Regions from separate parts of the Homo sapiens genome. Here region 2 is linked to region 1. The links are contacts of gene promoters, found by promoter capture Hi-C in blood cells and fetal thymus (Javierre and others, 2016). All regions are on one chromosome and are shown on one strand. Each heading gives the region's core, a stretch centred on a gene start or on the middle of the fragment in contact. The rest is flanking DNA. Distances are from core to core; before and after follow the strand shown.

Region 1 (2,788 bases), core at 110-2,609:
ATGAAGTATGGAATTTTAAACATCAGTTTACTATGCTGATTAAGTCAACATTTATATTTTCATCAGAACTTAATAATCCCATAAATAAATAGAGCTCTCAGTTATTTAAAAAAATCAAGGGATAACATATGTATTTAGACATATTAGCAGCGTAAAGATGTATGCTTCAACACACTTATTGGGGAAACGTCTGAAAATATTACTACACTGAATTCAAGGGTATCCAAAGGAACCTGACATAGAAGTTCTCTAGAATAACATCATTTCAGGGAATTTCAAAAAAGAAAAGGGGTCAAATAGGAAATAGCCTCAAATTAATTGACAAAGTTCAGTGTTTGCCCCAACTAGATTATTCTCTCTCTCCACTGCAAAAAGAAAGTCTCAGGATGAGTGAATCACTTAGACGAAAGTTCATCTAGTGGAATAAATGGAGAAGCCGCTTGGGCAGGTGACACAGGAGAGTCGGTGGTAGTGCTGACTTTCGCTGGTGAGTTACAAGAAGATCCGGCACTGCTGCTGTTTCCATCAAGGGTATCCGAAGATACACACACACCAGGATCTGACAGCTGTGCAACGTCAGAAGAAAGCATGTTGGTGATGCCCTGGAAAAATCTCTTTGGCTGATATTCAGTTTCCATTTCACATTTTCTTTTCAATGGTCCAAGAACACTTGGTCTAATGCAATTGATGGGGCTCTGGCTTCTCCGGGTGGTAAATCGGGTCGTTGGGCTGGGAATAGGGCTTGGAGGCAATCCGTTGCTACTTACAAAACTTTGCAAGGATGGCGAAAAACACTGCTTCCCAATTCCCCGAGTGGGTGACGGTGCTGGTGACACAGGAATGAAATCGATGCGCTTGGGGGAGGCGGATTTCTCCACGTCGTTGTCACTCAGGCTGAAACTTTCCTCCCAGGAGTGGCTTATCTGCATTGCGGTCTGCACCTCCCGTTCGTGGACCGTCTCTCGGTTGATCAAGTCCATGCCCTCTTCTTGTTTGATCTGGTGCAAGCGGCTGCTGTGCATGCGGACAGGGGAGGCCGGCAGCAGCAGGCCGTGGCGGCTCGGGAACGTTGTGCTGTTCCGCCTGGCGCTCGGCGCCTCGGCCTGGAACACCGGCGAAGTGTCACTGAGGCCGTGGATCAGGGGGGCGCTGTTAGACCTCCTGAGGCCCCCGCCGCCGCCGCTGCCACCGCCCTCCGCCGGGCTCCCGCCCGTACCCGGAGGCAGCTCCAGGTCTAGCTCCATCTTCTCCTGAGCCATGTCGGGGGCAGGGAGGCGGGGGAGGTGCTCAGTCAGGGACCTAGGATTCCCATTCCCCGCAGTCCAGGGCCGCCGCCGCTGCCGCCGCCACCGAGAATCTGTCAGCGGGCTGGCCCCTCTGCGCATGCGTAGCCCTTCGCGCAGGCGCTCGCGATGTCCGTACTCGCGGCGCCTGCTTAATGCGTAATATGTGCGCGGCAGTGGTAGGGGAGGGGCGAGGAGTGGTCGGGCCGCTAGTCCGTATATTCCTTCGGCAAATAGCTATTGAGCGCAAGCTCGCGTTGACGCATGTCAATAAGATTGTCATATTCTGGATTGCATACTCATAAAACAAAGCCCTGAAAGAGAGGCCCATGGTGATGTGGGGCTGTATGACGTGGAGTGGCGCTTGGCCTAATCAGGGAGGGCTTCCTCGAGGAAGGAACAATCTCCTGAAATCTGAAGAAGTGGGCGAAATGGGTGCGATGTAGAACTTTGCAGGAAGCGGGAAGCAACGGCTACCCAGCCAGTTGGCAGGCGGGAACCAGGAGGGGAGGAGAAAGTGTGGCCTGGAGTGGAGAGTGAGGGCTGGCCTGACGTGAGGTGGTGGACCAGACCACATTCTGGTCTTTATCTTGAGAACAATGAAAACTTAAAGGGTTTTCAAGCATGGGTGTAACAGCAACTGAAAAGCTCACTGGCCTGCAGTCTGGAGAATACATATTGGGAGATTAAAACCTTACAGAAAAAAGGCCAGAGAGGATGGTCATTTGCACTAAGGTGACAGTGTGGCAGTGGAGATGGAGAGAAAAGTAAATCTGAGAACTATTTAGGTTAGGGGAAGAAGCCAAAACAGAGGATGGTATTGCTATTGATTTACAGTCATAGTTCCAGCACAAGCATATGTGTGAAGTATGAAGGATTAAACCAGTAGGTCCTCACATTTTAAAAATGAAACCACAATTCTTGGCTCATGTAATTAATATAAAACCTTGATATCTCATTAAAAGTGAGTTTATTTGTTCATTTATTCAGTCAGTCAAGGTTTTTTTTTTTCAGCATACTTACTATGTGCCAAACACTGCTAGGAAATGGGCCCTAGTATGAACTTTTAATTCTTACTGAGGGGAAAATAGAGAAACGCAGGCTATTTTCAGATAGTGGTAAGCCTTAGGAAAAGTAAGATGGTGTGATGGAGCACTACTGATAGAAGTCAGGGGACAATTAGAGTTGAGATCTAAATGACAAGAAGCAGTAAGTCACGTGGACATCTGGGGAATGAGTATTCCAAGCAGAGAGAATAGCAAGTGCTAAGGCCGGAGGCAGCCATGAGTTTGATGAGTTAGCAGAAAAAGAAAAAAGGGCAGTGCCGCTGAAGCATAAGAGCGGGAGTGTTAGGAGAGGGTAAGAGTTGGATCTCATTCTGAATATGATGAAACGCCACTGGAGGGTTTTAAGCAGGGGACTGATATTATCTGGTTTATGTTTTAAATATCACTTAGGCTCTGTGGAAAACAGGCTGAAAGAAGACCAGAGTGGAGGCAGAAGGA
Region 2 (3,063 bases), core at 564-3,063, 44 kb before region 1:
CATTATAGACTACTGTGTTCTAAAACTGTTTTCATGTCTTGCCTCTCCCACTCCACTGTGAGCTACTTATAAACTCCTGTGGTATATTTCTCACTCCTAGCATAAAGGACCAGGGGCCTTAACCTGGGATCCATGGACTGGCTTCAGTCAATGCAAAAACACAATGGGTCATCAAAGCTTCTTAGTAAATCTGTGCATACCTTATGATCAGGGCTTCAGGACTGGGAAAGAAATTTAAGGTATTTGTAAAGGGAATAAGATGTATGGTGGCCTTGACAACACTTGTGTAGTCTGTTTGCTATCATTTACAATTTTTTTGTCATTTGCATTTGCAAAGCACTGCTTTTATGCTTTCATTAAGGTCATGGGTGAACATGGTAAGCTACCCAGGGCCAACTCATGCATCATGCTGGTGGAAACCGAGTGAACAGGGAGCAAAATTGCCAGTTTTCGAGACCATCAGTCCAACCAGATACAAACACAATAAACATAATATTTAACCCATACTTATCCACCTTGTCTGAAAGGAGACTAGCGAATCTTTTAGACACCTTTAAATCAAGACTCATTAAATTTGAACATACTCTTTATGAGTAATTTAATGACTCTCTCAAAATAGGAAATGCAGTTAGTTTGAAATAAACTACATCTTTATGAATTTCTCCAGGTTTGTAAAAGATATGTTTCTTCTCTAAATATGTATAAACCATATGTTTAATAATAATGCTCAAATTATACTGGGGAATAATGTCTCACTTATAATCTGGTTTCCAGAATGTACTCTTCCTCATTTTTGAAAATAAGAATAATATTTGCTTATGTCCTGTTTTCTGACAATTTTCCCATTCTGAAATTCATTTAAAGCTCACATTCAGAGGTTTTCCTATTCTAGCTTTAAGTTCTTTCATCTGGGAAATGGTTTATCTGGACCTGGAGATAAACACATTTGCAATAGCTAACTCCTAAGTCCACCATGAACACCTTCTCTAGTTTGAAGATCAGAGAACTAAACCGAATAATTCAGCTGAGCTTTTACCTGCCAGTAAAACAACACTCTCTCTAAGCGATTCCTTCTTCTTGCTATTCATATCAATACCATATTTATTAAGGGCTGAAGTTCTAAGTGCTGTGCTGGTCTTCTTGGTGCTTTTTAAGAGAGGCTACGTACATCTCCTTCCATTGCTTATACTTTTTAAAACCAGAAATCATTAATAAGATCCTGATATTATTACACATAAAAAATTGTTCATTAAAAAAAATTTCTGGTCCCCTTAGGTTTTCTGTGTCTTTCCTTATTTCTCCTACCATAGAATTTGATTTTTAGTTTTTACAACCTAAAAAACATTGCTGAGTTAAATATCCTACTGGAGACATTAATCATAGAATTACCTATACTAATTATTGAAAACCTGCTTGACTAAATAAATTCTTGGGCAGGGTACACTTAGCAAACTCTGAGATGTCATGGTCACATTTTTTCTATAACTTTTGCAGCGACAAAGGATCTCCTGTGAGTCAGAATTTGGTCAAGAATTTCAGTGCATCTTGATGCTGATTGAGAATACCACCTGAAACTGATCTGAAGTAATAACAGGCTAGCAACGTAATCATCTCTGTGTTGGTCCATGCTTGAATGAATGTACACGGAATCTTGGGTAAACGAGACAGGATTTGGTTTTTCACTTGTGTCTAAAAATAAATAATAGTGTATTGTTGCCTCTGGCCCAATGTACAAATTTTATAAAATATACTGCGGCACTTCTGAGCTCTTGAATCTTTACCCAACTCTTTTCCAACCACACCATCACTTTGAATGACAACCTCCCAGTTTGTATTTCAAGGTTTGGCTGAGTGGAAAAATCAGATAAAGAAGATATGCCAGGAAAAAGGGCACATTCTCCCATATGAAAATGGAATAGAAAATACATCATGCTAGTTCCATGACCTGAATATGTGGTCAGAGCCCATAGCTCATGTACTTTATGACTAAACGTCTTGCAGGCTGTCCATCAAAGTATAAAAGGAAAAATTAAGAAATAATAAACCTTCAATACACAAACCTCCTACTCTTAAGAGGGCAAAATAGCAAGAACTTTGAAAAGCTAAAATGTATAGTCAATTTATAATCAGGAGTAGAGGTGCTTGGGAACATATTTTACCCAGTAACGTGTTTGAACATTAGCTTGGTAGCTGGGAGTCGAGAATTTATCAAAGACTGGTAAGTTAAGATACATTAGGAAGTCTGGAAAAAGACTTTTTGTGAAATGGGCTGAAGACATAAAATCTGAGCGGCTTAGAAAAGGTGGGGAAGAGGAGCATCTCACATTTTAAAAGTTTTAAAATACAAAGGTAGGAAATGTTTTAAATGTTGGTGGAAAGTAGTGAGTCCATTAAAGGATTCATATATTATACACAGAACACTGCATGCCCTCAGGAGCCTTCTTCTTAGGAATAAGAAGGGTCTTCAAACAACTCTCTTCACTCAATATTCTATATTATGGTGAATTGACCCCCAAAGATTCCCATGCTCTAATCCTTGGGACCTGTGAATATGTCACCTTCTAAGGCAAAAATGAATTCAAGTTGCAGAGGAAATTAACGTTGCTAATCAGCTGACCTTTTAGATAAAGAATATTAATTTTTATTAATATTTTCCCATATTTCTGTGAGCCTAGGAGGGCTCAATGCAATCACACAGGCCCTTTAAAGTGTCAGAGTGATACAGCCTGGGAAAGACGCCACCGGCCATTGCTGGCTTTGAAGATGGCAGGGAGCCATGACACAGGGCACGCAGGGAGCCTCTAGAAGCCGGAAAAGACAAGGAAGTGGACTCTCCCCTGGAGTGTCCAGGAAGGAATACAGCTCTGCAAACACATGGATCTCAGCCCAGGGAGACCCATGTCAGGCTTCTGACTCACTGAACTATAAGATAATGCATGTATGTTGTCTAAGCCACTAAATTTGCAGTAATTAGTTATAGCAGCAACTGGAAACTAAGATAGTAACTTACAACTGCTTGGGAGAAGGAAAGGCCTTTGATAATATTCACGTGCCAAACAGCAA

Evidence for each region. Contacts are between HindIII fragments. The CHiCAGO score rates a contact against its expected background, and 5 or more counts as called.
Region 2: a contact is called between a fragment that was not itself captured here and the fragment with the promoter of PABIR1 in region 1, in 3 of 17 cell types (naive B cells, neutrophils and total B cells). The highest score is 6.5, in naive B cells.

Annotation. Positions count from the first base shown.
Region 1 is chr9:68,778,636-68,781,423 of GRCh38, reverse strand. It overlaps PABIR1 (PP2A Aalpha (PPP2R1A) and B55A (PPP2R2A) interacting phosphatase regulator 1), which reads right to left and starts at 1,359. Exons shown (of 1, transcript NM_138333.5): 1 at 1-1,359. The coding sequence starts at 1,259. The coding sequence ends at 396. All of the region lies in intron 2 of PIP5K1B (phosphatidylinositol-4-phosphate 5-kinase type 1 beta), which reads right to left. RefSeq lists silencers at 1,099-1,338, 1,456-1,870 and an enhancer at 623-1,451. The HindIII fragment of the contact is 10,001 bases long and covers 1-2,788 here.
Region 2 is chr9:68,822,722-68,825,784 of GRCh38, reverse strand. The region is part of intron 4 of PIP5K1B (phosphatidylinositol-4-phosphate 5-kinase type 1 beta); the gene reads right to left. Among named protein-coding and RNA genes, the nearest start is that of PABIR1, 44 kb to the right of the region's middle. RefSeq lists an enhancer at 1-270. The HindIII fragment of the contact is 3,268 bases long and covers 180-3,063 here.